Regions from separate parts of the Homo sapiens genome. Here all the other regions are linked to region 3. Evidence: promoter capture Hi-C in 16 types of primary human blood cells and fetal thymus (Javierre and others, 2016). All regions are on one chromosome and are shown on one strand. Each heading gives the region's core, a stretch centred on a gene start or on the middle of the fragment in contact. The rest is flanking DNA. Distances are from core to core; before and after follow the strand shown. Region 1 overlaps TAPT1 (transmembrane anterior posterior transformation 1). Region 2 holds the start of LOC124900674 (a long non-coding RNA gene). Region 3 holds the start of DCAF16 (DDB1 and CUL4 associated factor 16). Region 4 overlaps TAPT1 (transmembrane anterior posterior transformation 1).

What was found. The method cuts DNA at HindIII sites, captures the fragments that hold promoters and counts their contacts. A CHiCAGO score of 5 or more calls a contact.
Region 1: a contact is called between a fragment that was not itself captured here and the fragment with the promoter of DCAF16 in region 3, in 1 of 17 cell types (naive CD8 T cells). The highest score is 6.1, in naive CD8 T cells.
Region 2: a fragment that was not itself captured here is called in contact with the fragment with the promoter of DCAF16 in region 3 in 1 of 17 cell types (M1 macrophages); the score reaches 5.7 in M1 macrophages.
Region 4: a fragment that was not itself captured here is called in contact with the fragment with the promoter of DCAF16 in region 3 in 8 of 17 cell types (non-activated CD4 T cells, fetal thymus, total CD4 T cells and 5 more); the score reaches 11.3 in non-activated CD4 T cells.

Annotation. Positions count from the first base shown.
Region 1 is chr4:16,201,233-16,207,975 of GRCh38, reverse strand. It overlaps TAPT1 (transmembrane anterior posterior transformation 1), which reads left to right. Exons shown (of 14, transcript NM_153365.3): 3 at 5,396-5,514. Among named protein-coding and RNA genes, the nearest start is that of TAPT1, 22 kb to the left of the region's middle. RefSeq lists a silencer at 2,121-2,170. The HindIII fragment of the contact is 2,604 bases long and covers 1-2,573 here.
Region 2 is chr4:16,281,640-16,288,153 of GRCh38, reverse strand. It overlaps LOC124900674 (a long non-coding RNA gene), which reads right to left and starts at 1,068. Exons shown (of 5, transcript XR_007058064.1): 1 at 300-1,068. The HindIII fragment of the contact is 3,982 bases long and covers 1,484-5,465 here.
Region 3 is chr4:17,808,010-17,814,924 of GRCh38, reverse strand. DCAF16 (DDB1 and CUL4 associated factor 16) reads left to right here and starts at 4,168. Exons shown (of 3, transcript NM_017741.4): 1 at 4,168-4,478. NCAPG (non-SMC condensin I complex subunit G) reads right to left here and starts at 3,946. Exons shown (of 21, transcript NM_022346.5): 1 at 3,737-3,946; 2 at 2,501-2,704; 3 at 1,780-2,008; 4 at 1-72. The coding sequence starts at 3,847. RefSeq lists enhancers at 3,475-3,987, 4,261-4,420, 3,988-4,499, 4,541-4,630, 6,250-6,399. The HindIII fragment of the contact is 3,530 bases long and covers 2,910-6,439 here.
Region 4 is chr4:16,219,053-16,226,270 of GRCh38, reverse strand. It overlaps TAPT1 (transmembrane anterior posterior transformation 1), which reads left to right. Exons shown (of 14, transcript NM_153365.3): 1 at 1-12. Among named protein-coding and RNA genes, the nearest start is that of TAPT1, 3.8 kb to the left of the region's middle. RefSeq lists a silencer at 1-247. The HindIII fragment of the contact is 1,839 bases long and covers 2,615-4,453 here.

The DNA of each region.
Region 1 (6,743 bases), core at 22-2,521, 1.6 Mb after region 3:
TCTGTTGACTTTTCTTTACCTTGTAATTCTGTGCTTTTTGGCAATTCATTATTTCATTGTTACCATGCCTTGTACATTATAGCTATTTAATACATTTTTCTAAAAATTAAATTCAACTGCTTAAATAGAATGACTTAGTTTTCTTACCAATGTAGCAAATTTTTATAAGCCTTAAATTTGTCAGATTGAAGGTGTAAGTATTGATATATTGTTATTACTAGGCATAGACTATTATTGTTGAAAGGGGGAAGGGTTACTGTCATACAGGGGAATTATTTGTAATCAAGCATCAACAACCTTAGCTTCTTGAGTCTGTTTGTAATAGCTGAGGCCTGATCAAGGCATCAGATCTCTCTTGGGTTTTACTTTCTTCTATGATTAGAAGGTTGTACCTAGGTCATCTCAAGAGGTCTAATAGTGCATGATTCATTGAATGAGTTTGCCTGTGAGGAATGGTGAGGGTAGATGGAAAGATTTAAATGTCTAGTGGAGTAACTTAATTTTGCCTTTTTGAAGGTCGTGGTGGGGTTAACATTTAGGAAAAAATAATCCAAAAGTTCATTTCAAACGAACGGACTTCAAATGTCATATAAAGCCTTTTTGTTTTATGTCAGTGTGAGGATATGTTAAGAAAACGTAATGACTATTGTTTCCCCTTTATTTCAGTAAAACAGTCCTGGGATTTCATTGTGAAACTAATAGAGAGTATTTACTCAGACCCATATTTATGGCAGTGTTTTCTTGGGCATCCTAGTCAGTTTCTGATTTCATAAAAACATGTTCAGAGAATCATCCCTCTAAATTCTTCTCATAATGCAGCTCTTGCTGGTGACACACCCTTGTGCAGATGTTCCCCCTCCTTGTCCCCCAGCCCCTGCTGTGTGGCTGCTGAGAAGCAGGAAAGCCAGTAGGGATCCACATGTCTCAGAATCTCAGCAGCCTTGGCTGGTGCTTCTCCCCTTCTCTCCGAGGCTTGTCACACCCTGCTTGTGGTGGTAGTGACCACAGCTTCCACGTTCTTTCTGCAACTGTCTTACCATTCTTAATTTTCTCAGGGGAGGTTGGGCATATGAGACTCATCAGATAGTTCTAAGACAAGCCAGCAAAGCCTTTAGGCCTCTAGCACATTTATTAATGTATTTAAAAGATAATTTTTGAACTTGGCACCATGGGGCCATGTTTATCTTTGTGAATCAATCACTTATTTCTCTCATTTCAGCTTTGGAAACAGTCTTAAATTTCTCTTCTCTGTCTTTCCATTGTCCTATGTCAGGCTGCTGTGATCATTCACACTGATGGCTCTTCTCCTTCCGTACTGTCCTCTCTGCTCACTGCAGCCTGCTGTGGTGCTTCGTGCTGACCACTCCCTAGAAAGTCGATCTCATCCTAGATAGAAGGTGTAGGATCAGAGCCTAGAGCCGCAGCTAAGACCTCTGTTCCTTAGGTGACACTCAGTCTTGCCCTGGGACCCTGAGGGCACTCCTGCCTTGCTGCATCATTCCAGCCTCTCAGCAGGAGCACCACAGCCCTGTCTAAGCCCTGTCTGTAGCAAGCAAAATACCAAGTAATAGTTCCTGCCTGGTGGGTTGTTGTGAGGATCAAGTTAATGTGGGTCACGTGCTTAAAATATAACAGTATTCAACATGGATTGGAAGTAAGAGAAGCAAGAAAGTCTCAGGATCATTCTATGTGCATAGTCCTACAAATTAAAATCAATTGACTTGTTTTCCATGGCTGCATATGCTTACATAGCTTGCCTATCGTAAGAGAACTTGGCTCATGATAATCCCTTTGTTGGCCATCTCCTAGAGTATAGACTTTCTGGGGCATGAATTTTTTAATTCGGATGATTAAAATGATTTTATTGTAGGGATGACCTTGAATCTGCAGTAATTGCTTTCAAAGTCAGTCATTTATAGTTTTCTTATTGATATCCTGTTCCCCTTAACATTCTGCTGATTGTTGATCCCTATATGTGAGTTTATTGAGAACATCTTCATTCTCAGCAGAGATTTATCAAAATGTACATGTTTCAAAATAACCTAATCATCTTCAGGTACCTCTTTAAAATAAAAGAGCTATAAGTGAAAACAGTCAAAAGACAAGGATACCTTGGAACCTAAGAATGAAAATTTGAGCTCCTTAGCAATGAACTGAACGTGATTTTTATGCCTCTTGCATAATGATTATATCCTAACCTCACCACTAGGAGGCTACTCACATTGTACCTGTGCATGCTCTTTCCTTGGTTTGAAATTCGGTCCTCTTTACTGCCTGGCAAAATCTAGTGCCTGTCTTCTCTCCTCTGTGGGACATCTCTGCTATCTCTTGCACCTCCTTCCCTGTGGTGTGCATGCCACTCTCACCTGCCCCCAAATACACACGCTTTACAGACCCAGGCTCTTCACCTGTGTTTCCAGAGCACATCATTCATCTGGCACTTAGCATGCGGTTTGTGTCAAGCTCACTGGGTTGTGAATTCCCTGGAGAGGATGTCTTTCCTCCCAGTGCAGTATTAAGCAAGATATGGTCTCTGCTTTTACAGGAGTAGACCCAGAGCTTTAGCACAAGCTTTATAAAAGTGAGACTAAGCCTCTTTACTCCTACTTTCTAACACCCTAGACCAGCGATCCTCGACTAGCAGGTGGTATTTGGTGGTTGTGGTGGAGGAGATGGTATTCAGAATTTCCAGAAGATGGTTAGTGTAATTCAAGGAGATATATTGCAAAATCATTATGCTTCTTTCATTTTAGCCATAACATTTTGTTTATTTTGAAATTTCAAATGGTGCTAAAAGAAGGGCAGGAGATTTTTGTCATAAAGGGACACGTAGATTTTTTAAAAGGTGAAGAAACCCTGCTTCATTCCCCACAGAAAGAGGCTGGCGTTTTTACTTGTTTATTTCTCTTGAGGCAGGTATTTTTCAGATGCTAAGTGCAGTACTATTAGGTTCAAAATAAATATGATAAGAGCAGGTTGTAGAAATTTTCACAAGTGAATATTTTGTTTACTTACAATGTCACAGGATAATTTTCATTTTGTAATTTCCTTAGCATTAAAGTTCAGATGTTAAAAACTTATGTTAAACTTTATTTTAAAATGTGTATAATGGTAAATCCAGTGGTGAGTGAGGCCAGAAGGATGAGTGAAAGTGTCATTAGTAGAAATAGTGCTTCAGTTTTCTGCAGACTGAGTGAAGTCCTGGCTCTGCCTCCACCACTCAAGAACCCAGGCCAACTCCTTGTCTCACTGCAGAGTGTGGGTGGTACTAGACTGCGGCCATGCACAGGCAGGGCCCAAGCCCAGCACCTGGCCAGTGCCCGGTTGCGTTGCCCAGAACCTGTAGAAGGCTTCTGAAGTCCTTCCAGAAAAGATCTCTCAGAGACAGAGAGCCTGGTGAACATTTCTGTCCTTTTATTGTTTTCACTTATAACTCTTTTTATTTTAAAGAAGTACCTGAAGATATTAATTAAGCAAAAGATTATTTTGAAACATGTACATTTTGATAAATCGCTGCTGAGAATGAATTTTAGAAAATATTTTAAAATTATATGTCTGCAGTTTGTAACTCAGTACTTTTAATTCAGTTTTGCACAAAGAACTTCCCAGTGTGTTCCCACTCGTATACTCTTCTGCAAAGCTTTCTGTAGTCAGTTTGAGCTGAACTGTCTTCAGTGCTTTGGAAGCTGCCTAGGAAGGAACTAAATTTCAGCCTGGCTGCCTATCCGGGACCTGATTTTCAGACTGAGTTGCAACTTTTTAGTGGATCACAAACGCTCCTGGGAACATCAGGTTTCTGGCAGTTTCTGCCCTCAGTACTGAACCAGCAGTCCACTCGCAAGGACGGAAAGGCTTCTCAGTGATAGGAGAGTAATAGAAAAGGACCATGAACTCTATCTATATGGACCTTGCTCAGCCTCCTGCTGTACTGCTTTGTGTGTAAGACAAGAAAACATGCAACACTGGGACTCTACGCTAATCTACCACACGTGACTCTATGCTAATCTAGCATCGTATTTTCACTGCTGTTCATAATGAGTCTAAATTGTTAAAAACAAAAAAAGGGCCTATATATTCAGATTAAGAAATCTGGCAAATATTATGTGTAGCATATTTTTGAGATATTTTTATCAAAAATTAATAAAGTGTATTCTTTCATTTAAAGACATGTGAATTTGTTTGCTAGGGCTGCCATAACAAAGTACCATAGACTGGGTGGTTTAAACAACAGACATTTATTATCTTGCAGTTCTGGAAGCTGGAAGTGTGCAATCGAGTGTCAGTGGGGTAGTTTCTTCTGAGGCCTCTTCTTGGCTTGCAGATGGCTGCCTTCCTCTTCGGTCTTCATATTATCTCTCCTCTGTCTGTGCCTGTGTCCAAATTTCCTCTTTTATAAGGACTCCAGTCACACTGGATTAGGGCCCACCCTAATGACCTAAACTTAAATTACCTCTTTAAAGACCCTATGTCCAAGCACGGTTACATTCTAAGGTACCAACATAGGAACTTAAATTACCTCTTTAAAGACCCTATGTCCAAGCACGGTTACATTCTGAGGTTCCAACATAGGAACTTGATAGAGAGGACACAGTTCAGCCTGTAACTATGAATTTTAATCTGTGGAGGCAGGGCAATTTATTGACTAAAGATACATGGATGCTGTGGTGAGGGCATATGTATCATACCATAATTGTGTGTCAGACATACAGAAAGTTGCCACTCTTAAAATGAGTAGCTGAGTTTGTTAGCCTAGTGGTGGCTACTTGGCCAAGTCCTCGAAAGACTTCACCCTCTTTCTGTGAAATATAGTCCTAAACTTAACAAGTAAGAGTGTCTAATGATACCACAAAAAGAAAGGGTATGGCAAGTACTCAAGAAAGGAGGAGAAATATAAACACTAGGAGGCTGGTCCTGGAATTAAGAATAAGGCCTTCTGAGTGCAGCAAGTTTCAGTGCACATGAAATTGTGTTAAAGTTAGTGATCAGTTTGCATATTTTTAACATAAACAATATTGTAACTCAATATATATTCCAGTCTTTCCCATCAATGAAGCATTCTAATAAACAGGAATAGCAAAATTATGAGGAATAAAGATTTTCCATAATATCTAGAGCTTGAGGAAGTACTCAGAAAGCCGCATCAGATGATGTGCCATTAACTATGGTCAAGGGCAACTTGTTTTTGAGTAATTTCTTTTGTGAGTCGTAAACCAAAGGCTCTGAGGAAGCACAGACTCACTCTTTGAAGAGAAGAACTGTTAATTTGTTATTCCCAGGGCTAAGTTTTAAGAAATTAATTTTTTATAATGTTTAGAAATTCTGGTTGTTTGGAATTTTCATCTACAAGTATTTTTAAAATACTTTTTTTTTTTCTTCTCTCCTTGTTAAAATTCAGCTGATGGTTTTTGGAATCTTTCTGTGCCTGGATGCGTTTTTGTATGTGTTCACCCTGCTTCCTTTAAGAGTTTTCCTGGCACTATTCAGGCTCCTCACTTTGCCTTGCTATGGCTTAAGGTAAGTTTAAGATCGTTAACTATTGTAAATGTATAGTATTTCATTATTTTTAATACTTGTAGTGGTTGCAGAGTAAGGATAATTCATACAGTTTCATCCACACTTTGGCCCTTCATGCATAAACTGTTTACCTTTTTAATGGATATTATATAATATGTTTATATAATATTAAGCTTTTTATATGCTTATTTTTTTCCAGAATTGTTTTGAACCGAAACTTTGCTTTAGCCGGTAAAATAATGTTAATGCTGGAGGCTTTGTAGCAGTGTAGAAAGGACCCGGGTCTGAAAGTCAAAGACCTACTTATCACGTTCTTAACTCACCTGGGCCTTTATTTCCCCAAAGTCCTTGGGCCTCGTAGGCATCATCTGTGGAAAGGACAGGGTTCTAGGCTGGAGTGGAAAAGGAATCTCCTCAGGAGCTCTTACTGCAAGTGTTCCTCCTCCATTTCATTTGAGAATCATTGTAATGATCTGTGGAGCCTTAGTTACTGGTTATGGACGAGACTGATTTGTGAGAGTGGAAAAACTCTGGAAGACCATTGTCCCCACGGGGAAGATCAGAGAGCCCGACCCGACATTGATTAGCTTGTGAGCTGTGCACAACAGCCTGACTTCTCTAAGTGTGCTTCCCCATCAGCAAAAAGGGGGTATTGAGAGCTCAGCATCTTTTACCACAAAGATTGGAAGATGTAAAAAAAATACCCAGCATAGTACCTGGCTCATAGTAGACCAGAACAGATAATCTGTTTTCTTCTTTTTCTTCTCTACCAAAACTCAGAATAGTAAGGTGAAGATGTTAAGCTTACATGAAGCTTAATGCTTTATTGGTCTTGAGGTTAAAAGCGAGTTTGGCTTTTACGGTTTTCTTTCTTTGTACAATTATGCCGGTGTGTCTCCACTCTGTATATAGTCACTCTTCACAGCATTTTTATTGAGTTCTTAGCATAGATGTCGAGGTTACATTTCTGACATGCATCACTTTTCTACATACATTTCATGCTGGAAAAGTTCTAAAATGCTAAAATGGACAATAATTTGTGAGACTTCATTGAACTATGGTGACTGTTCCGTGGTGTATAAAATATATAATTAATAAAATAATTTAACCATAGCAGTTGAGTTAAAAATTAGTGGTCGATATACACATTTATATGGTTTGTTTTTTTAAAAGACTGAAGCCATGAAAGGTTCTTTTTTAAAGTAGTAAATGAGCGTATACTTGATATT
Region 2 (6,514 bases), core at 2,225-4,724, 1.5 Mb after region 3:
TCCCCAGAGTGTTGATCCAGTTAACAACGGGCTAGATCACATTTCCCACAGCTCCCACAGGCTGAGAGGTGAAGCTTATTGTTTCTCCCTCTCCAACCCTGCCATCCTTGTTGAACTAAATATCCTCCAACAATATGATTTTCATTAATCTGATAGATGTACTGTGGGGTCATGTTGCCATTTAACTTGGGAATTTCTATGGTTATGAGAGATGTTGAACTTTTCTCCTAAGCTATTTAAATTTCCCATTCTATGACTCCCCTACTTATGTCCTTTGATGACAGAGTTGGCTTTCTTACCTTTTTCTTGTTGGTTTGCAGGAGTACTTTGTATATTCTAGGTATTAATCCCATTCAAAAATTCTCCTATTTTTTTCATTAGATTGTAGCTGTATGTTTCACATTGAAGTCTCTAATTATCTAAAAGTTCCTCCCTTGACCAGCCTGGAAAACAGAGTGAGACATCATCTCTACTAAAAAATACAAAAATTAGCCAGACATGGTGGCGTATGCCTTGGTCCCAGCTACTCAGGAAGCTGAGGTGAGAGGGTCGCTTGAACCTGAAGGTGGAGACTACAGTGAGCCGTGATCGTGCCACTGCACTCCAGTCTGGGTGACAGAATGAAACCCTGTCTGAAAAATAAAAGAAATAAATGAAAGATCCTCTCCTTGCTTATGGAATAAGATGAAGATCTCACTTTATTTTTCTCCTTAATATGAGTCTATTTCCCAATATCAACTTCTTAACAATCTGTCCTTGAGCCACCGACTTGTCTTGCCACCTCTATCATATATCAATTCCTAGATATATATGGATCTGCTTCTGAATTTCCTGTTCCATTTCATTGTGATAGTTGAATGTTCCTGTGATAGTACTGTTTTTGTTTCCATGGTTTTGTAGTATATCTTCATATCTGCTAAGAAATTCTCTTTCATTTTCTCTTCTTTTTAAAAATTAACTTAGCTATTCATGGACTTTTAGTATTAACCACAAATTTGAGATAAGTCTTAAGTTTATTTTTAAAATGCTGATGTTTATAAACTGCATTAATTTCTAAATTATTGGTTTTTGTTTTTGTTTTGTTTTGTTTTTGAGACGGAGTCTCGCACCGTCGCCCAGGCTGCAGTGCACTGGCGCGATTTCGGCTCACTGCAGCCTCCACCTCCCAGGTTCAAGCGATTCTCCTGCCTCAGCCTCCTGAGTAGCTGAAATTACAGGTGCCTGCCACCACGCCTGGCTAATTTTTTTGCATTTTTATTAGAGACGGGGTTTCACTATGTTGGCCAGGCTGGTCTTGAATTCCTGACCTCGTGATCCACCCACCTCGGACTCCCAAAGTGCTGGGATTACAGGCATGAGCCACCGTGCCCAGCCAAATTAATTTTTAAAGAACTGACTCTATTACAATTTTAGGTCATTCCACCCATTAACATAATGGCATTTTCATATATTCAAGTCTTTGTCTATTTCCTTTAATAAAGCTTTAAATTATGATCTGTAAAGCTCTTATATTTTGTTAAGTAAATTCTTAAATATGCTAGAGATTTATTGCTGTTGTAAATGTTATGTTATTTTCCATTATATGTTCTAGTTTGATGTTGCTGGTATAGAGAAACACTATTATCATTTGATACAGTCTCTGCAAATATTACTGATATGTCTTATTAATTCTAGTTCATGACGGTTTGAGTTTTGTGTAGATTATCATATCATCTTCAATTATGTTACTCTTCTCATCCTTTCCAGTCTTTAAATTTTATTTCTCTTGGCTGACAGTAGCACCCAAGACCTCCAAAGCCAAAACCACATTCACAGTAGCAGTAATAAAAGGTTGCATTCTATTTTCCTGATCTAATGAGAATGATCAAAGATTTTACCATTAAAGATCATCCTACAGTAAGGTTTAGGTATGGATATTTTATCAAGTTTAAGAAATTCCCTGCTAGTCTGAATTTGCTAAGAGGTTTTAACATAAATATATTTTGAATTTTATCAGATATTTTAATCTACTAATCATACAATTATTCTTATTTAGACCATTTATTTGGATACCTAGTTAATTTTCATTAATATTTCTCATGTGCTAAAAGAAAATGTCATCAGTTAGGATTTTTTTGCTTATATATCTGTTATCAAGTTGTCTTCTGCATGAAAGTCATTCATTCTACTTTCAAAGTGTTTACCCTTAACTATTAAGACCTATACTTGTGTTTATTTTTCTATATGGGTCTCTAAAACTTAGCATTAACTCTACGTTTCTCCAAACAGTACAAAGACCCTAATTATCTTCATTCCTTCTCCTTTTTTTTTTTTTTTTTGGTTTGATAAGAGTCCACTGTTTCCATTATAGACTTCTCACATCCTAATTTTCAAGTTGGTTATTCTTTGCAAGTGCTTGTTCTGGCCTTTATTACAAATTCCCTTGACTACTCCTTTGAGATATTTACTATATCTATTTAGATATTTTTAATATGCTCCATTCATTCTACTGCATCTAGTAAATATGAATGGCTTCACCATATCATCTCTACCAGGAGAGGCAAAAGTTCAGCTCCTGGTTTCCCTCCTGTAAGTCTGAGGAGAATGGATCCTGCCTCAGGACATTGGGCCTCTAGGATTACTTATTTATCTTGGTATTGTCCACTTGCCACTTCTACCAGCAACATTGACCTTTGCTAGCACTGCTTTAACAAGGTACCACCAACAGAATGGTTTAAACAGTATATTGTCCCATAGTTCTGGAGGCAAGAAGTCCGAGATCAAGGTGTCAGAAGACTTGTTTCATTCTGAGGGATGTGAGGAAGAACTGGTTCCAGTTCTCCCCTAGCTTCTGGTGGTTTGCTGGTGTATTAGTTCATTTTCACACTGCTGATAAAGACATACCCACGACTAGGCAATTTACAAAAGAAAGAACTTACAGTGACTGGGGAGGCCTCACAATCATGGCAGAAGGTGAAAAGCATGTCTCACATGGCAGCAGATAAGAGAAGAAGAGCTTGTGCAGGAAAACTCCTATTTTATAAACCATCAAATCTCATGAGACTTATTCACTACCAAAAGACATATTCACTACCACAAGACAGCATAGGAAAGACCTGCTCCCATGATTAAATTACGTCCCACAGGGTCCCTCCCATAAGACATGGGAATTTAAGATGAGATTTGTGTGGGGACACAGAGCCAAACCATATCATTCTTCCCCTGGCCTTTTCATGTCCTCACATTTCAAAACCAATCATGCCTCCCCAACAGTCCTCCAAAGTCTTAACTCATTTCAGCATTAACTCAAAAGTCCGTAGTCCAAAATCTCATCCAAGACAAGGCAAGTCCCTTCCTCCTATGAGCCTGTAAAACCAAAATCAAGTTAGTTACTTCCTAGATACAATGGGGGTACAGGCATTGGGTAAATACAGCTGTTCCAAACGGGAGAAATTGGCCAAAACAAAGGGGATACAGACCCCATGCAAGTCAGAAATTCAGCAGAGCAGTCAAATCTTAAAGCTCCACATGGTCTCCTTTGACTCCATGTCTGATATCCAGGTCATGCTGATGTAAAAGATGGGTTCCCATGGTCTCAGGCAGTTCCACCCCTGTGGCTTTGCAGGGTACAGCCTCCCTCTTCACTGCTTTCACGGGCTGGCATTGAGTGTCTGTGGCTTTTCCAGGTGCACAGTGCAAGCTGTTGGTGTATCCAGGTGTTTTCATACATCCTCTGAAATCTAGGCAGAGGTTCCCAAACCTCAATTCTCCACTTCTGTGTACCCACACCACATGGAATCTGACAAATCTTGGGACTTGCACCCTCTGAAGCCATGGCCTGAGCTGTACCTTGCCCCCTTTTAGTCATGGCTAGAGTGGGTGGGATGCAAGACACTAAGTTCTTAGGCTGCAAACAGCACGAAGACCCTGGGCCTAGCCCACGAAACCATTTTTTCCTCCTAGGCCTCCGGGCCTGTGATGGGAGGGGCTGCCATGAAGACCTCTGACATGTCCTGGAGACATTTTCCCTAATGTCTTTGGGATTAACATTTGGCTTCTTGTTACTTATGCAAAATTTTGTAGCAGGCTTGAATTTCTCTTGAAATGGGATTTTCTTCTCTATCACGTTGTCAGGCTGCAAATTTTCCAAACTTTTATGCTCTGCTTCCCTTATAATACTGAATACCTTTAACAGCACCCAAGACTCCTTTTGAATGCTTTGCTGCTTAGAAATTTCTTCTGCAAGATACCCTAAATCATCTCTCTCAAGTTTAAAGTACCACAAATCTCTAGGGCAGGGGCAAAATGCCAATAGTTTCTTTGCTAAAAGATAACAAGAGTTTTGCTCTTTGTAACAAAGTTGTTTGCTCCAGTTTCCAACAATATCTCCATCTGAGATCACCTCAGCTTGGACCTTATAGTTCATATCAATCATCTCCATCTGAGATCACCTCAGCTTGATCCTTATAGTTCATATCACTATCAGCATTTTGATCAAAGCCATTCAACACATCTCTAGGAAGTTCCAAACTTTCCCACATTTTCCTGTCTTCTTCTGAGCCCTCCAAACTGTTCCAACTTCTGCCTGTTATGCAGTTCCAAAGTCGCTTCCACATTTTTGGGAATCTTTTCAGCAGCACCCCACTCTACTCATACCATTTTAGCGTATTAGTCCGTTTTCACACTGTGGATAAAGACACACCCAAGACTGGGCAATTTACAAAAGAAAGAGGTTTATTGGACTTACAGTTCCAAGTGGCTGTGGAGGCCTCACAATCATGGTGGAAGGTGAAAGGCATGTCTCACATGTTGGCAGAAAAGAGAAGAGAGCTTGTGTAGGGAAACTCCCCTTTTCAAAAATCATCAGGTCTCTTGAGAGTTATTCACTATCATGAGAACAGCACAGGAGGGACCTGCCCCCATGATTCAATTACCTCCCACAAGTTCCCTCCAATAACACATGGGAATTTAAGATGAGATTTGGGTGGGGACACAGCCAAACCATATCACCTGGCAATCTTTGACATTTCTAGACTTCTAGCCATATCGCCCTAGTCTCTGCCTTCATATTTACATGGCATTCTCCCTGTGTGTATGTCTGTGTCCAAATTTCTCCTTTTTATAAAGACAACAGCATATTGGATTAAAGGCCCACCCTATTCCAGTATAATTTCATCTTAACTAATTATATCTATGACGACCCTATTTCCAAATAAGGTCACATTCTCAGGTACTGGGGCTTAAGACTTCAACATATAAATTTTGATGCCTTTATAAAAAATATATAGTTTGAAAGACACAATTCAATCCATAACAGCCTTCAAAGTACCTCCCTGGACCTCTGCCCTGGGTGCTGCAATTTTATAATCTAAATAACTAATCCTTGCTCTGTAGAGAGGAATGGAGAGGTTTGTCCTCAGCTTTTATTTTCTTCCCACCCCAGTTGCATGTATCATTTCTCTGTGGTCTATAGCGAGGGCTAAGCTTATGATACTGTTTTTCTGATTTATATTGGCAGAAAACATTAGAGAGAGAAACAAACACAACGACAGAGCTTCCACCGTCTGCAGTTCCTGCCTTCTTCTATTCTAAGCTGCCATTTTTCCTCTATATTGTGACCCAACCGTTGTTTTGTCTCTGGGAGTTTTTTACAGTTTTTATTCACAGTCTCAGATCCACCACCTTCTCTCTTGCTTCTGTGGCATTTCAAAAAATTCTTTCACAGGCAGGAGACTTAGTCCATGTGAATTTGATATCTAGTTGGAATCATCCTTTGCCTGAAGTTGTTTTATAGCACACCAGTACACAGGAAAACCCTTAGTTTATCAGGTATTTCTCATTTAGGGAAGAAAAAAATGAGTGTTTTTATAATTCCTACAATGGAGGCAAATGGATAGGCAATTAAAGCTAAAAGCAAAGTTTTAAAATATATTTTAAAGTTAAAGATTTTTGCTCAAGAAAGAGTAAGCAGCTGTAGAAAAGTTAGTACATTGATAAATGATTGTTTTCCAGACATGGATTATTGTTGAAAACAAGAGGATGCTTGTTAAAGTGCTGTAGATATATTAATTTTTCTTTTCAGCATTGTTTGCTTAATACTTTGTTATGGTTCTTCCTGTCAACTTAAGACTAATGAGATCTATAAGTTTGGAAAGGACACTTTATTTCTTATAGAGGATTACAGCTTGTAAAGTGACCATTCTGACAGGCTCAGAGTGTAGCCTCCAGTCCAAGCCTAGAATCAGGCACTTGGAGAGAGGGAAGCGTGAGACAGGAATTTAAGCTGAACAGGTTGTCCAAGTATACTTATTCAACAGATTACAGGAGGAGCTATGAATATTCATGAAGGTGGTCCTAACTCAAGTGTACTGAATAAACATACAACCTATGTTCACTATGGGATAGAGACTTAACCTTTAAGTGTATTATATAGGTCTTTACAGGACACAAAAGCATTCCAGTGTGCAGTCTCTGTAAACTGACCAAAACCAGTTCATGATCAGTGGCCTCTTATCAGGAGAAAGTGATTGAAATC
Region 3 (6,915 bases), core at 2,919-5,418:
ATGGTGCAATACATGATAACACTGCCCGTCTAACTTCTGGATTTGAATCATTTTCAATCAAAGTAGCATATGCTAAAAATAAAGCAATACATTTTAGTACTGATGAAATTATTTATTTAACTACAGTCATAAAATAACACACATTTTGATATTTTAAAATGCCTTTAATGTGATAAAGATAGGCTGGGCATGATGGCTACTGCCTATAACCAGCACTTTGGGAGGCCAAGGTAGGTGGAGAGCTTGAAGCCAAGAGTTCAAGACCAGCCTGAGCAATATAGAAAGACCCCTGTCTCTACAAAATAATTTTAAAATAAAAAATTAGCTAGGCATGGTAGTGGCGCTTCCAGTTACTTAGGAGGCTGAGGTGGAAGGATCACTTAAGCCCAGGAGTTTGAGGCCACACCTCTGCAATCCAGCCCGAGTGAGAACCCATCTGTAATAGAAAGTAATGTCATTTTTTTAGTCTCACATATTTTAGTTGAAGTTTTTTTCCCACCAACTTCCTTCTTTTTCTTTTTTTTGGAGACAAGGTCTCACTATGTTGCCCAGGTTGGAGCCAAAGTGCTGAGATTACAGGCCTGAGTCACTGCTGCGCAGGCCACCAACTTCCCTTCTAAAGACACAAGGGGGAATTAGTCAACGGACTGGCTCTTAGGCCAAAAGTGAAAACAAATAGCCCTAAAAGTCACAGAAAATTCATCATTAAGATTATGTCTGTGCTACTCCTCAATATTTAAGAGAAAGCTTACTATAGCAGACAGTTTATTTTAAACTGATATGGCTTTATAAGGGCCCATTATTTTGGTTTTTAATGAGACCTAAAAGGAAATATTTTTTGGTTTTATTCATTGAAACAAACCCATTTCTTATATTTAAATATATTTATCTGTACTTCTCACATCTTTCCTACCTCAATTATTAAGTACAGGTTGACTATCAAATACCTATGTTTTACACAATATTATTATGGGTATCTTTTAACACCAAAAAAAATACCAACTACTATAGTGATAAATATACCAGTGATTATAAAACTGGTAATAGGGACAAAAAGGACAGAAGAGTGCCTAAAACATACCTAGGCATATATGGAAAAATGAAATACAACTACCTTTATGACCCCATAGGTAAGAAAAAGTTCCTTAAAAAAGAGATTAAAAAATACGAATCATAATGGCAGAGATTTATATTTTTGACATAAGAATTTCTGTTCAAAAAAAAGATACCCCAAAGGGAGTGAAACAATGATACCCCAATGAGCCACCTAAAACAGGAAGAGATCTACAATTCATATAACCCAAGGATTTCTTTTCAAAATATATAAAGAATGCAAATGAATTTTTTAAAATAGTATTTTAAATTAAAAACCCAATGAAAAAATGGGCAAAACACAGTAACAGGTATTATATAGAAATATAATTGGCTGCTAAATATATACATACAGCATGATTTACACAAAATGACAGGAAAACATTAAGATAGACATATGTGATTTATGCAAAAAAATTTTTTTTAATTTAAGCAAGAGACTAATTAACCCCAAACTGAGGATTTAATAGTTACTTCTGAGGGACAGGGATGCAACTGGGATAGGATGCAAGTACTGACTTTTTTTTTTAAGCTGGGTGGTTGCTACTTAGGTTTTTTTTGTTTAATCGGAATCATATATTAATTACCTATACTCTTCAAATGTATAGACCATAATAAAAAATTTCAAATACTGAGAATTTAACAAAATCAACAAATCTGAAAAAAGATTTAGGAAACTACACACACCATTAACCACTGGGCATTCATCATCCTTGGGATCCTGAAGTCGTGAAAGCGCCAGAACTGCCTGTATTCTCACATTTGGAATCTTATCTTTCAATCTAATAAGCATGGCTTTATTAATTTTATCAAACACATCATCATCAATCTGAGCATTTTCTGGCATACTTCCCAAAAGCTTGTTTATGAGCAGGCACACTCTAAATCTCACTGCATTGCTGTTTGCTTCATGAGACTAAAACAGAAACAAATCAAAATTTATTCATAGTCACATACCACTCCCAAATAATCAATATTATCTGAACTCTATACATTCGGAATGCAAGAAGTTACAACAACAATTCATTTCCTGAAGAGAACCTATAATGCTACCTTGGTCCATATGTATAGCAAATATATATATTTTATACAGTCTCAAAATGAACAGTCTGAAAGAAGTCTTTGCTAAGTTACATAGTCCTCTTTGTAGAGGCTTCTAAAATACAGAACTCATTTAAAATAAACAAAGGAGAACTGGTTTAAAGAGGTCATTAAAAATTTAATGCTGGAGTTAAAGTCCACTTTTTAATCATAATGATAATTCTAATATTTCCTATGAAAGGTAGACTCATTCAGGTTTTTTCAATCACTAGATATTTCATTGTCAAAAACATACAAACTCCCACGACTCTTTTAAAGTGGCAAAATTTTCTAAAATCCCTCCCCAAAGCTATCATTTTCATAGTACCTTTAAGAGAAAAGTAAACAAATAATTTAAAAGGCCACCATCTTCCTCTTCCTCATCATCTTCCATATCTGATTGGTGAAATGAGGTAACAAACTTTGCTGCAAATTCTATTACCCTCTCCACAGCTGGTTCACGTTTATAGACCACCATAACATATTTAAGGTAATGAATGAACTCCTCATGAAAAACTGTCTTATCATCCATCTGAAAGACAAAAGAAACCCTTCATAAACTGCACCGATAAAAATCCTTTATTCCCAACATCACCCTAAGACTGATGAAAGCACTAGCCATAATAATGCAGACAAATTAAAATATTTATTTAGTAAACTCTTAATTATCCAAACCAGCCAAAGGGCAATCAATTTGCATGAATTTCTCTCCAGGCTATAATGGGAGTACACAAGCTTGACTTTTGACAGTGAAAAGATTCCTTTGATATATTTTTTTCAATATCTTTGATTCTCAATAAGCCTTTAGTACCAGTACGTTACAAATACGCTTCTTCAACAACCCAAAATCAATACTGGCTTTTATATTTCTCATATTCAGGCCTTCCTATCACCAGCAGTTTCTTTATGAGATAACTTGCACATCCTATCTCATATCCTCAAAGCCCTGTGATGTTTACTCACAATTTTTCTTGGACCTCAAGATAATTCATCTTCCCCAAATTAATTGTTCTATTCTTCTCAAGGTTCCACTCAAAACAAACAAATAGTATGTACATAAATAAGAATGGCCAGGCCCTAAAAATAATTTGGTATTTGGTGATTGGATTCAACGTAACCGTAGGACAAGGGTAGAATCATTTGATGTTCGGCGGGGAGCGATGACCCCAGGGGCAACGACCACTGAACCCCCGCATTCAGGATCCACTCTGCGGTTCAATATTTGATGTCTGATCGCCTCGGTGGTCGTAAATGTTTCTCTCCACGTTCACGATCGGACTAAGGAATAACGGTCCACGCCGCCCAGAAGCTGGGGGTGTCGGCTCAGAAAAGCCAAGGCGGGGCCCGTGTGAACGACGCCCAGGCTTCGGAGGCTTTCTGGCCTGGGCCCAGGCGACCTCGGGTAAGTCCCTGACTTCTCCGAACCTCAGATCCCTATGAAGTGAGTCGCGAAGGTGAACAAGGCTGGAGTCACGGTGCGCCGAGCCCGAGGGCCACGGAGGGCCCCTGAGGGAGGGTGGGCCGGGGCGGGCGAGAGGCGGCGGCCGGGGCCGGGAGCGCTTACCGTGCGGTAGGTGCGGCTCAGCGCCACCACCAGCTTCGCCTGGTTCTGGTGCGGCTGCTGCGCCAGCCGAAAGGCCTCCTTAATCGACAGCAGCCTCCTTTCCGCTCCCATGGCTCTGGAACCCTGCCGGGACGAGTCCTGCCCGCGCTCGGCTACAGCCTGCCAGCCCGCCAACCCAGAGGCAGCGCTCTCCGAGTAGTCTTCTATGACAGCCCCAGGGAGTATTTACCGCTCGAACGTTCAAATAATTCCCGCGAGAGGGGGAAATCCCGCGAGACTGCCGTAAGCGCTTTGGGAGAAGAGAGCGGGAAGCGATGGGTCCACCCACCTCGCACCCCGCGCTTTGGGCGCATGCGTCTAGGTTCAACCTTGTCCAGCCGTTTTCACGGAGGGAAGTGGCGTTTCTAAGGGGGAGGGGCCTTGACTCGGCCGGAAGTAGCGTCGGCGCGGGAGCTGAGCGGAGTGGCCTTGCCACCGGAGGGGAAGGGCTGCTGGCGTTAGGCCTGGCTGGGTCGTGCGGCTGAGCGTGAGGCTAGAAAGAAAAAGCGATCCTCCAAGAGTGAGAACGGGAGATCTGCCGAGGATAACAACCTCCCTTGTGGCCGAAGGGCGGGGGATCCCCACACGAGGGCTCCGCTTCGAGAGACGGCGACAAAGGAAAGTTCGTAGCGCGTTCCGGAGGCCCGGCCACCTCTGAGAAGGGAGACGACGCTGCTGGGTCCGCTGAGCGGGGCGACCCGAGGTTAGTGGAGACGGATGCTGTCTTTTGAAGGCCTTAGTCCCTGCCCTGGTGAAGCCGACTGCGAGGTTCCACAGGGCGTGCAGGCAGTCCGGGGATCGTTGCGAAGGGGGGTGCGGGCTAACTTAGCTGCTGCCGTTTCTAGATGTGCAGCTGTGTAGGCCCTGTTTACAAGTGTGCATAAGGACAGTGTATTAAGGGAGAACTCAAGAGAATGGAAAGGTCTTTCGGGTAGTGGTTAAAATAAAGAAGAGTAGGAACTAGGTTTTTAAATTTTAAATGAAATTATATCAGACAGAACTTCTGTTGGATCTCAGGATGCACCATCCAAAAATAGGACTGTAGGAGACCAAAATATGCCACCCTACAATATACTTCTAGAGTATATTTTGAGCTGGTATTCTGATAAAATGCAGACACAGGAGTCGCTCTGAAAATCTGTCCTGTTGTAAAAGAAATTGACATCTACAGAGGAAATATACATCAGTAAAGGATCTGTATCAGAAAGAGGGCAGCTCTGCGATAATTTTTGTTACCTGGGAGATCTTATCTGCATACCAAGACAACTTTTATTCACCGTATATTTCCTCCCCTCACCTTTCCACAACTTTGTGGCCACCATCCCCCAGAAAGCCGCAAGCCCCCATTTCTTGAGTAGCGTAGGATGCTGTATAATATTCAATCATCTGACCATGGTGGGACTCCTCTGCGTATGTAATTAAGTACGGGTTTTTTTTCTTGTTAATGTCTATGTCAGGTTAATTTGTAACCCAGCCAAAGAACCTAGGAGGATGGAGGGAAGCCGTTTTTCCCTCTCCTACACCTCAGTAACCTACTGCCAGCTGAAGAAATAGAACATTACTAAAGCCACCTGTACATCTTTCTCCTTTTGAATTACCTGCCCTCCGAAGAAGTAATGGATTTTCTGAATTTACTGTTAACTTTTACCATGCAGCTTTCTATATCTTAATGACATATTTTAATATATTAATGACATGAATAAATCCCTGAATGAGGATATTGTACTATTTTGCATGTTTTAACCGTTAAATGAATAATTATATGTGCATCTGGCTTTTTTCAATCAATATTGCTGTGGTTCATATTGATATGTTCATAATAGTAACTTGCACTTAATTAACCTTTATTATGTGCCAGACACCATGCTAAGCACTTTACTTCGTTTACTGCTCACAAACCCTGTAGGATAACTTTGATCTTCTTTTAAGATGAGGAAACTACGGCACAGACAGGTTGCTATAGTACTCCATTGTATTAATATGCCATACCTTATCCATTCTCCTGCTTAATTCCTCAAACTTTGTAGATATTCAGCTGCTAGTTAAGAATGTGGTAACATTTGTGTTGCCCATAATTTTGCTTTGTGACGTTTCTAATATATATTTTTTTATTTTTATTTTGAGACAGAGTCTTGCTCTGTCGCCCAGGCTGGAGTGCAATGGCGCGATCTCGGCTCACTGCAACCTCTGCCTCCCGGGTTGAAGCGATTCTCCCGCCTCAGTCTCCCAAGTAGCTGGGTTACAGGCATGCACCACCACACCTGGCTAATCTTTTGTATTCTTAATAGAGACGGGGTTTCGCCATGTTGGCCAGGCTGGTCTCGAACTCCTGACCTCAGGTGATCCACCCGCCTTTGCCTCCCAAACTGTTGGGATTACAGGCGTGAGCCACCGCGCCCGGCTAGTATTTCTTTACTATATTCTATTTGGCTGTCTCACCAACAGAGACATCACACCATTTTGTCAGTTACAGAAGAATGAGACATCTGGCCGCCAGAGGTCAGCCTAACTATATTTCGGTTAGTTTTTTTTTTTGTTTTGTTTTGTTTTAATGGTTAAAGCCATGGGGGTATTGGTTCAGTATTTTTTGATATTATAATCTGAAAATATTTTTTCAAAGGTGCTAGATTAAATTTAAACAACATAGTATACTGCCTTAAAGCTTACATTTTTCCTGACTTTTGTACTGTGAAACAGAACAAAAACAATTATGGGAAAGTAAGAGCCTTTTTAAAAATTTTCTGAGTAACATAATAACTGAAGTATAGCCAATTAGTAATCTCACAGGTGCAATCTGGTTGAAGTGAAAATAGTAAAAATATTAGAGGACAGCACAATTAAAAGCCAACAGCTTCTCCTGTCTCAGTTAATAAAGACTTACGGTCCACGACAAAGAATGAATACTCTTTTTCAGATTGAACAAGGTAATAGTACTATAATCTAAACTTAGAAGTATTACATTGTTTCTTCTTAAAGTTATAAGCAGTTTCCTTTATATTGCTGTAGTAGCATCATATATGTTGATCCTGCCTTAAAAAAATTATCTCATTTGTCTTTGTCTAACATTACCAAATCACCAAGATATAACTTGGAACTGTTCTCTCCCTGGAGTAAAATAGAACATGCTTGTGGTAGTTACT
Region 4 (7,218 bases), core at 2,285-4,784, 1.6 Mb after region 3:
GGGGCCGCACAGGTGAGGCGGGCGGCGCTAGGCCGTGGCGGGCTCCGAGGGGCGGACTGGGGACCGAGGGCGGCGGGGGCGCCTTGGAACCCCGGCCCCCGAGCCGCGCGGCTGCCGTTGCCTCCCGGGGCTCCCCAGGCTGTGGGCGCGCGGAGCCGCCGAGGCTGCCGAGGCTCCGCGGCCGTTGACAGTTCCTCGGGCGGGTTGCGCGCGCAGCCCCGAGGCCCCCGCGGCCGCGCCAGGCCAGGTGTGCCCTAGAAGGGGTCTGCGGCCGGGAAAGTTCTGTCCGGGTCCTTGCATCGCCCTCGGAAGGTCTTAGGTTAGCGGGCATCTCCCACGTCTCGGAGCCCAAACGTGAGAAGCACACGGCTGATTTCTTAATTATATTCATGCCAAGGTGACTTTTTTTGTTCTGTATTTTAAGCAAACTTGAGCCATAGAAACCTGTTAACTTGCCCTGCAAGTAGATTTTTCACAGACAGCTGACGGTGTGGTAGTGACCATGAAGTTCAGTAGTTTTGCCCAGTACAGAAATATTTAACACTCCATAAAATGTTGCATCTGAACTTTTCCTGAACTGAAACTTATGCCAAAAAAATTACTAGATGAGAAAATGTGTACTTATGAATCCTACATTCAATGACCAGTTTTAAACGTATTGTTACAATGTTACAGTTTCTATAAGCTGTAGGTTTTTATTCTCATTTTAAAAGAATTTTTAAAACTTGCATTTGTATTCATATTGCAGTTACAGATTAGTTTTAAATGAAAAAAGGTTTTGAGATGGATGTCTTCTTGAATATAGAGTGAACCCAACGTTTTAATTCTCAAGCTGTAAACAGCAACTGAACCATAACTCCATTAAATTTCTTCCAACTAAAAAATTACTTCTGTTGTCCAAAAGGGGCTGTGTTAGCCGTTATTTCCTGAAGTTCATGCAAATAACTAAGTTGTGAGGCTGATTACATCATTGATTGTACTTGAGTACTGAAATTTTAAAACTACTTAAGGGGCATAAAGTTGATCAGATGCGATTCTAATTGATTTGCTGATTCCCAGAACTGGACGTAGGTTCTATTTGAAGCAGTCTATATTTTTGGAAAATTACAGACGGTCTTGTTTGGTCTTTTTCAATTAACCACTTAAAAATTCTCAACCATACTTTATTTGGTTTAGTTCTCAGTTAAACATTTGCTTTCAAGAGTATTTACTTTCTTCATTGGCAGGATCTCAGTAAGACAAAATAGCAAATCTCTCAACTGTCTGTTTACTTACTTAGACTTGAATATTAAAAGCACTCTGTTGTAAATAGAGATAGATGTAGCCAGGCTTCACTATACTTTCTTTAAAACATTTCTCAGTTGCAGGAAAGCCACCATTTTAAAAGCCTTTTTTTGTTGTTTGCGTGGAGAGGAAATGAAGTTGTTTGAAGCCTATTGATGAGCACAGATCTTGAGCTTGCAGTATCACTTAACACTTCTTCCCTGGCTTTTTCTGGGACTGGATACCTGGACTTCCATGGACTTCATTATACCACGTATCCATTCTTCACCAACATGGTTCACCATGTTTAAGGCTGGATTTTTTTTAACCCATAGTTGCAGGAAGTCATTATCAGGGAGATGCCTCCAGGTTTAGCTGTTGGGGTAGTCCTTGTTCTTTCCCCAGTTCCATTGATTTTGTGTGAGGAGATGTCAGTGGCCACTCCTGCTTTACCAAGTCACACTAGCCTTGGCGATCAGGATTTAGGTGAGAATTCCAAATTCCAGGAGTATTTCAGCTGGAGCCACTGGCCAGTGTTCTCTCTGAGCCTCCACATAAGCCCCTCCTTCTTTTCCCCTGGTGTCCCTGCTCTGCTAGTCACATAGCTCCTGCCACTGCTAGCACCCAGTCTGTAGCTCCGATAACCATATTTGTTAGAGGTTTCCCCACTAGAAACAATTATTTTAGTCCTTCTTCAATGCCCAGGCTGCTAAGTCTAGCGCTGCCCTCTTCCCCTGCTCTGTAATCCTTCCTTCCCCTCCTTTTAAGAATTTTTAAAAACGATTCCCTAGGAGCTGGCCTGGGTCAGAGGGCCTTTGAGTGGCAGCACCTGGAGTCATTTGGATAGCATTTCTCCCTGAATCAAACTAGTCCTCCACGGCTAGATGCTCGGACTTAAGGTATTACTTGTTGATTTTTTTATATTCTTGTGTGCCTCTGAGAGTCTAGCACCACTGCCCTTGAGATCTAGATCCCCCTGCAAGTTAAGGCAACCTTTGGCTTTTCTTTTTGAAAGTCATAATCTTAGTGTCTTGGTGGCTGAACCATCAGTCAGTTCCAAAGTTCCCTTTATCATTTCTCACAAGGAATTTAGGGCTCCTACAGGTAAGACATTTGTTGATCAGTCCCAACAGCCTAGAATTCCCTAAATGAATGTACATATTAGGTACTTATCCAAACTCTTTCCATCTGAATAAAATAAAACGTGGTGTCTGAGGTTCATTTTTTGTTTTATATCTCTCCTTGTTGATTTATATGTTTAGAAACTAGATATGTATATTTGTCTGTATGAATAGCTGTATATGCTCTATATTGTATTATACTAAACATGTGTCTCCATTAAGTCTAAGCTTTCTTTTCCTCATCACTTCGTTCTCAGAACTCCCGTTCTGACTTATATTTAGCCTGGCAATAGGCTGACGCATGTCTCAGATGCGAGTACTTACACCTTTTAACATAGTTAGAATTGGGAATCCCACTCATCATTCCTGTTTTTATTTGCTCTCTCAGAATGGTCATTGTGTATTTCCTTGTTGCATATGTGGTTACTGGCCTTGAACTCTGGATGTAGTGGTTATCAAGAACTGCAGATTGATCTCTTCTGTATTTTCTTCCTGTCCTTGAAAATACTACCAACTTCTGTTGTTCCTTTTGACATAAAACCAAATAATCAATGTTATGTTTTTGTGCTTGTTCCCCACTTGATTCATCTGCAGAAGTCCTAGGTAGGAGAGTTTCTGTATAGCCATATTTTTATTTAGGAATCTAAGTACAGCAAATCAACTTTGGACTAAGCATTAGGAAATCTGTGTTTTTGGCTTGGTTGGGTTGTTGAATTGCTTTGTAAACTCTGTGCTTGCTTAGACTGCTTGCCTAATCAGTTTGGTTCTGTTTCATAATGCCACTACTAGATAGTTCAGTATCTGAAGCATCTAGGTTGCTTCTAGTCACCATGGAGACTTAACAGAAGGCTTGGTGTAAATAAGGGTAGCACCTGTGAGGGTAGCACAGGTGAAACAGTACCTGTGTAATGCAGGTGTTGGAGATGCATGGGGATAGGTATTGCTTGTAAAACAAGAAAGCCTGAAGTCGGGTATAGGTGAACATATTGTTTCTACTGGTAACAGTGCCATGGACCCATTTCTTTCTTCTTTAACAGTGACTCTGGACTTCTAAAACTTCAACTTATTATCCATCTCTTTTGCCTCTCTCCTCTCCCTTTAACCATGGTTAGACCTCTTCTTGCTTCACCTCTGTTAGAGATTGAGCAGAGGCAGGAAGAATGAAACCCAGAAAAGTCAACTGAATTTTTAGCAATACCCTTAAAAGATTTCGAGTGGGACGAAGGTTTTAACTATTCATATTACCTATGTCTTATTCTTTGTGTAACTGAAAATTTGTCAGTTTCTTCTTACAAATACATTTTTATTAAAATATGTTTTCATTTAACCAGTCTTCACCTATATCACATAGTTATCCCAGTGGCCCCAAACTTAACCAAATGGATGATTAAAGGGTGACTGATTCTAAAATTATGATCTAGAGCCAATTAATTTGTTCACAAAGAAAAATAAAAATAATAAAACCGGGAAATTACTTGGAGTAACCACAAACCAGATACAAAGTAAAATTAGCTACTTCTGACAAACTATTGCTTTGCTTTTAAAATTCTCACTTGCTTTACTTAATTAGTATATATAGACCAAACGAACAATGAAAAGTTACTTATTTTGGTTTTTGATCAGTTCAGTGTCTTGGCTTTTGACAGTTTTTAACTTTAACTTAGTTTACGCTCTGAAATTCAATCCTAGCAGCTCATTTGTGCTCCAATTTGGGGACTACTTGCATAAAAGAAGTCTCTGGAAAGCCTATATAGCATTGACTGTCAAATTAATGATATTCTATTCTCATTTGTAATCCTTTGCTTTATAACCTTATGACCTTGGAAAAAGTCACTCCTTTGTTTATACCTGTTTTCCATCTATACATGTGTAAATATTCTACTCTTTACTCCTCTAAATGAGACTATAAACATTTTTTCAAACATCTTAAAAACTTGAATATACTGTGTGAAATGGTTCTTTACTTAATGTTTGACTTAGGAAGGCAGAATTGCTGTTGTATGATTGAGTCCCAGAAAAGCTGATTACTAATTGGCCTGGTACAAGAGTGTGTCTCTGTTCAATAAGCTTATTTAATATTTTAGTGTAACCTTAATAAAGTTTACTAAAGTTTTATGTTATTTAAGACTATGGAGATATGCATGTTTCATATTTTCCTAACAGTTAACCAGTATTACTTTCCAAATTTTTAAATGCTCAATGCTATTTTAAGAAAGATATATTTAGACATATTACTGAACATATAAATATATTTATGATTACTCATTACTTTTAATTAATACTTTTTAATCTTTGGTTCTTATTTCTAAAATAAGCTTTCTTAGAAGATAATTAAACATTGTGTTTTTTCTTTTAGGGGTGAAGAAAAAGCAATTTATACTATGCTTTTTCTGAATTTAAGTTCTGGATCACAGAGCAATTCTGTGGTAGGAGATGATATCATGTAAAAATATGCTGGAGGGGCTGGGCGCGGTGGCTCACTCCTGTAATCCCAGCACTTTGGGAGGCTGAGGCGGGTGGATTGCCTGAGCTCAGTAGTTCGAGACCAGTATGGGCAACACGGTGAAACCCTGTCTCTACTAAAATACAAAAAATTAGCTGGGCGTGGAGGTGTGCGCCTGTAATCCCAGCTACTTGGAGGCTGAGCCAGGGGAATTGCTGGAACCCAGGAGGTGGAGGTGGAGGTTGCAGTGAGACGAGATCGTGCCACTGCACTCACGCCTGGGCAACAGGTGACAGAGCAAGACTGTGTCTCCAAAAAAAAAGTATATATATATGTACGTATGTGCTGGAGGAATTGATTTGGATTTATGATTGGTATTATTTTCCTCATATTACATATTCACAGTTGACGGCTGGGCACGGTAGCTCACACCTATAATCGTAGCACTTGGAGAGGCCAAGGCGGGTGGATTGCTTGAGCCTAGGAGTTCAAGACCAGCCTAGGCAACATAGTGAAACCCTGTCTCTATAAAAAATACAGTGAGCCAAGATTGTGCCACTGGGCTGCAGCCTGGGCAACAGAGTGAGACCCTGTCTCAAAAAAAAAAGAAAATTCACAGTTGTCAAAACATAGTTCTTCTAATGTTAAGCACTTGTTTATGCTATAATAGTAAAATGTTTCTTTTTTTTTTTTTTTGAGATAGAGTCTCGCTCTGTCACCAGGCTGGAGTACAGTGGTGCGATCTTGGCTCACTGCAACCTCCGCCTCCTGGGTTCAAGCAATTCTCCTACTTCAGCCTCCCAAGTAGCTGGGACTGCAGGCGTGCACCACCATGCCCAGCAAATTTTGGTATTTTTAGTAGAGACGGGGTTTCACCATGTTGGCCAGGATGGTCTCCATCTCTTGACATTGGGATCCACCCGCCTTGGCCTCCCAAAGTGTCTATTTTTAAAAAACTTTTACTGAATGATATTTCTTCCTGGTAAGATTGGGATAAATGAACTAAGATTAATTGACATCTTAAAAACTGAAATCAGTGTTCAGAAAGTAAATATTTGGATTATTGGAAAAATACTTATTTTTAAAACGTAGAGGTAGATGTTTGGCATAACAAATGAGAGTGACTGTTTTGCTTAGAAGGAATGAAATACTGCAAAAGTCTGACAGAAGTTAAGATGTACTTAGCTGTCAGAGTTCTTGGTGATACCCATAGGTAAAGAACAGTGGCTTTGCTAAATAATTAACCAGTCAACTGTAGCCAAAATTATAGGACAGATAAGTTCAGATAGGTCTATAGAATTCTAGAGAGCAATGTTTAACAAAATAAAAACAAGCGAAACACTGAAACGCAGGTATACCTCGGCACTGGAGATTGAGTGGCGCTCTGGGAAATGCAGCCTTCTCCAGGAAAAGGTGGGAATGGTCCTGGCAGAGCAGAAGCAGCGAGGCTAACTCGATGGCTCTGGCAGTGAGGCACTGTACCCTCCTACCTCCTTCACCATGAATCACAGCCAAATTATAATTGTCAGAGAGATGGTTGATCATTTTGATGTAGGGGAGAGAGCACGCTGGACTAGGTACTATTCCCAATTTGTCACTTAGCTTTTCAATGACTTTGGACAAGTCTCTCAACTTCTGTGAACCTCAGTTTTTTCATAATATGAAAATGGACAAAATATGGACACCATTAATTGCTCTGTTTAACTCTCATGATTGTTGCAAGAATTGTATGAAGTAATGTGTGCAAGACCTTTGTAAACTGCCTTATACTATAAAGTAGAAGGATCCTAATCCCTAAAATAAAGCCACTTACGCAGGAGTAGGTGAGAAGGAGGTAAGACAAAGCTTTCAAGATATTTACCTTATGAAACTTTGTTGTTGTGGTTAGTATTTCTTTAGTGTATCATTTAAAACCATTCCCCAGCCTATTAGCATCGCGCTAATTGTACGCAAAGTTTACCCTTACATTCAGAACTCACCGGCAGGGCTGGACTTCGAGAATATAGGGATACATGGGGCCTGCTCTTAGAAAGTTCATGGTCTTGTAAGGGAGCAACTAGTAAAGAGTGTAGCTTCACAGAAGTCAGCCCAAGCTGCAGTGGGAGCACAGGTAAAGGGGAGGGACAGAGGGCTCCTAATTTTCCAGAAGTAACACAGTGGCCTGTTTACAAAGGCACTTGAGGCAATAATAGGCAAAGCTATCTAATGGTGAAAAGCACACTCTCTAGCCATAGACTGCTTGACTTTGAATTCTGGCTTTTCTGCTTGCTTCCTGTGTGACCTTGGAGATCTCCTTAGCCTCTCTGGGCCTTGGTTTCTTCATCTGCAAAATGGGCATAACAGTAGAACCTGTTTCATAGTTGTGAGAGCTGTACACTCAAAATAGGTTAT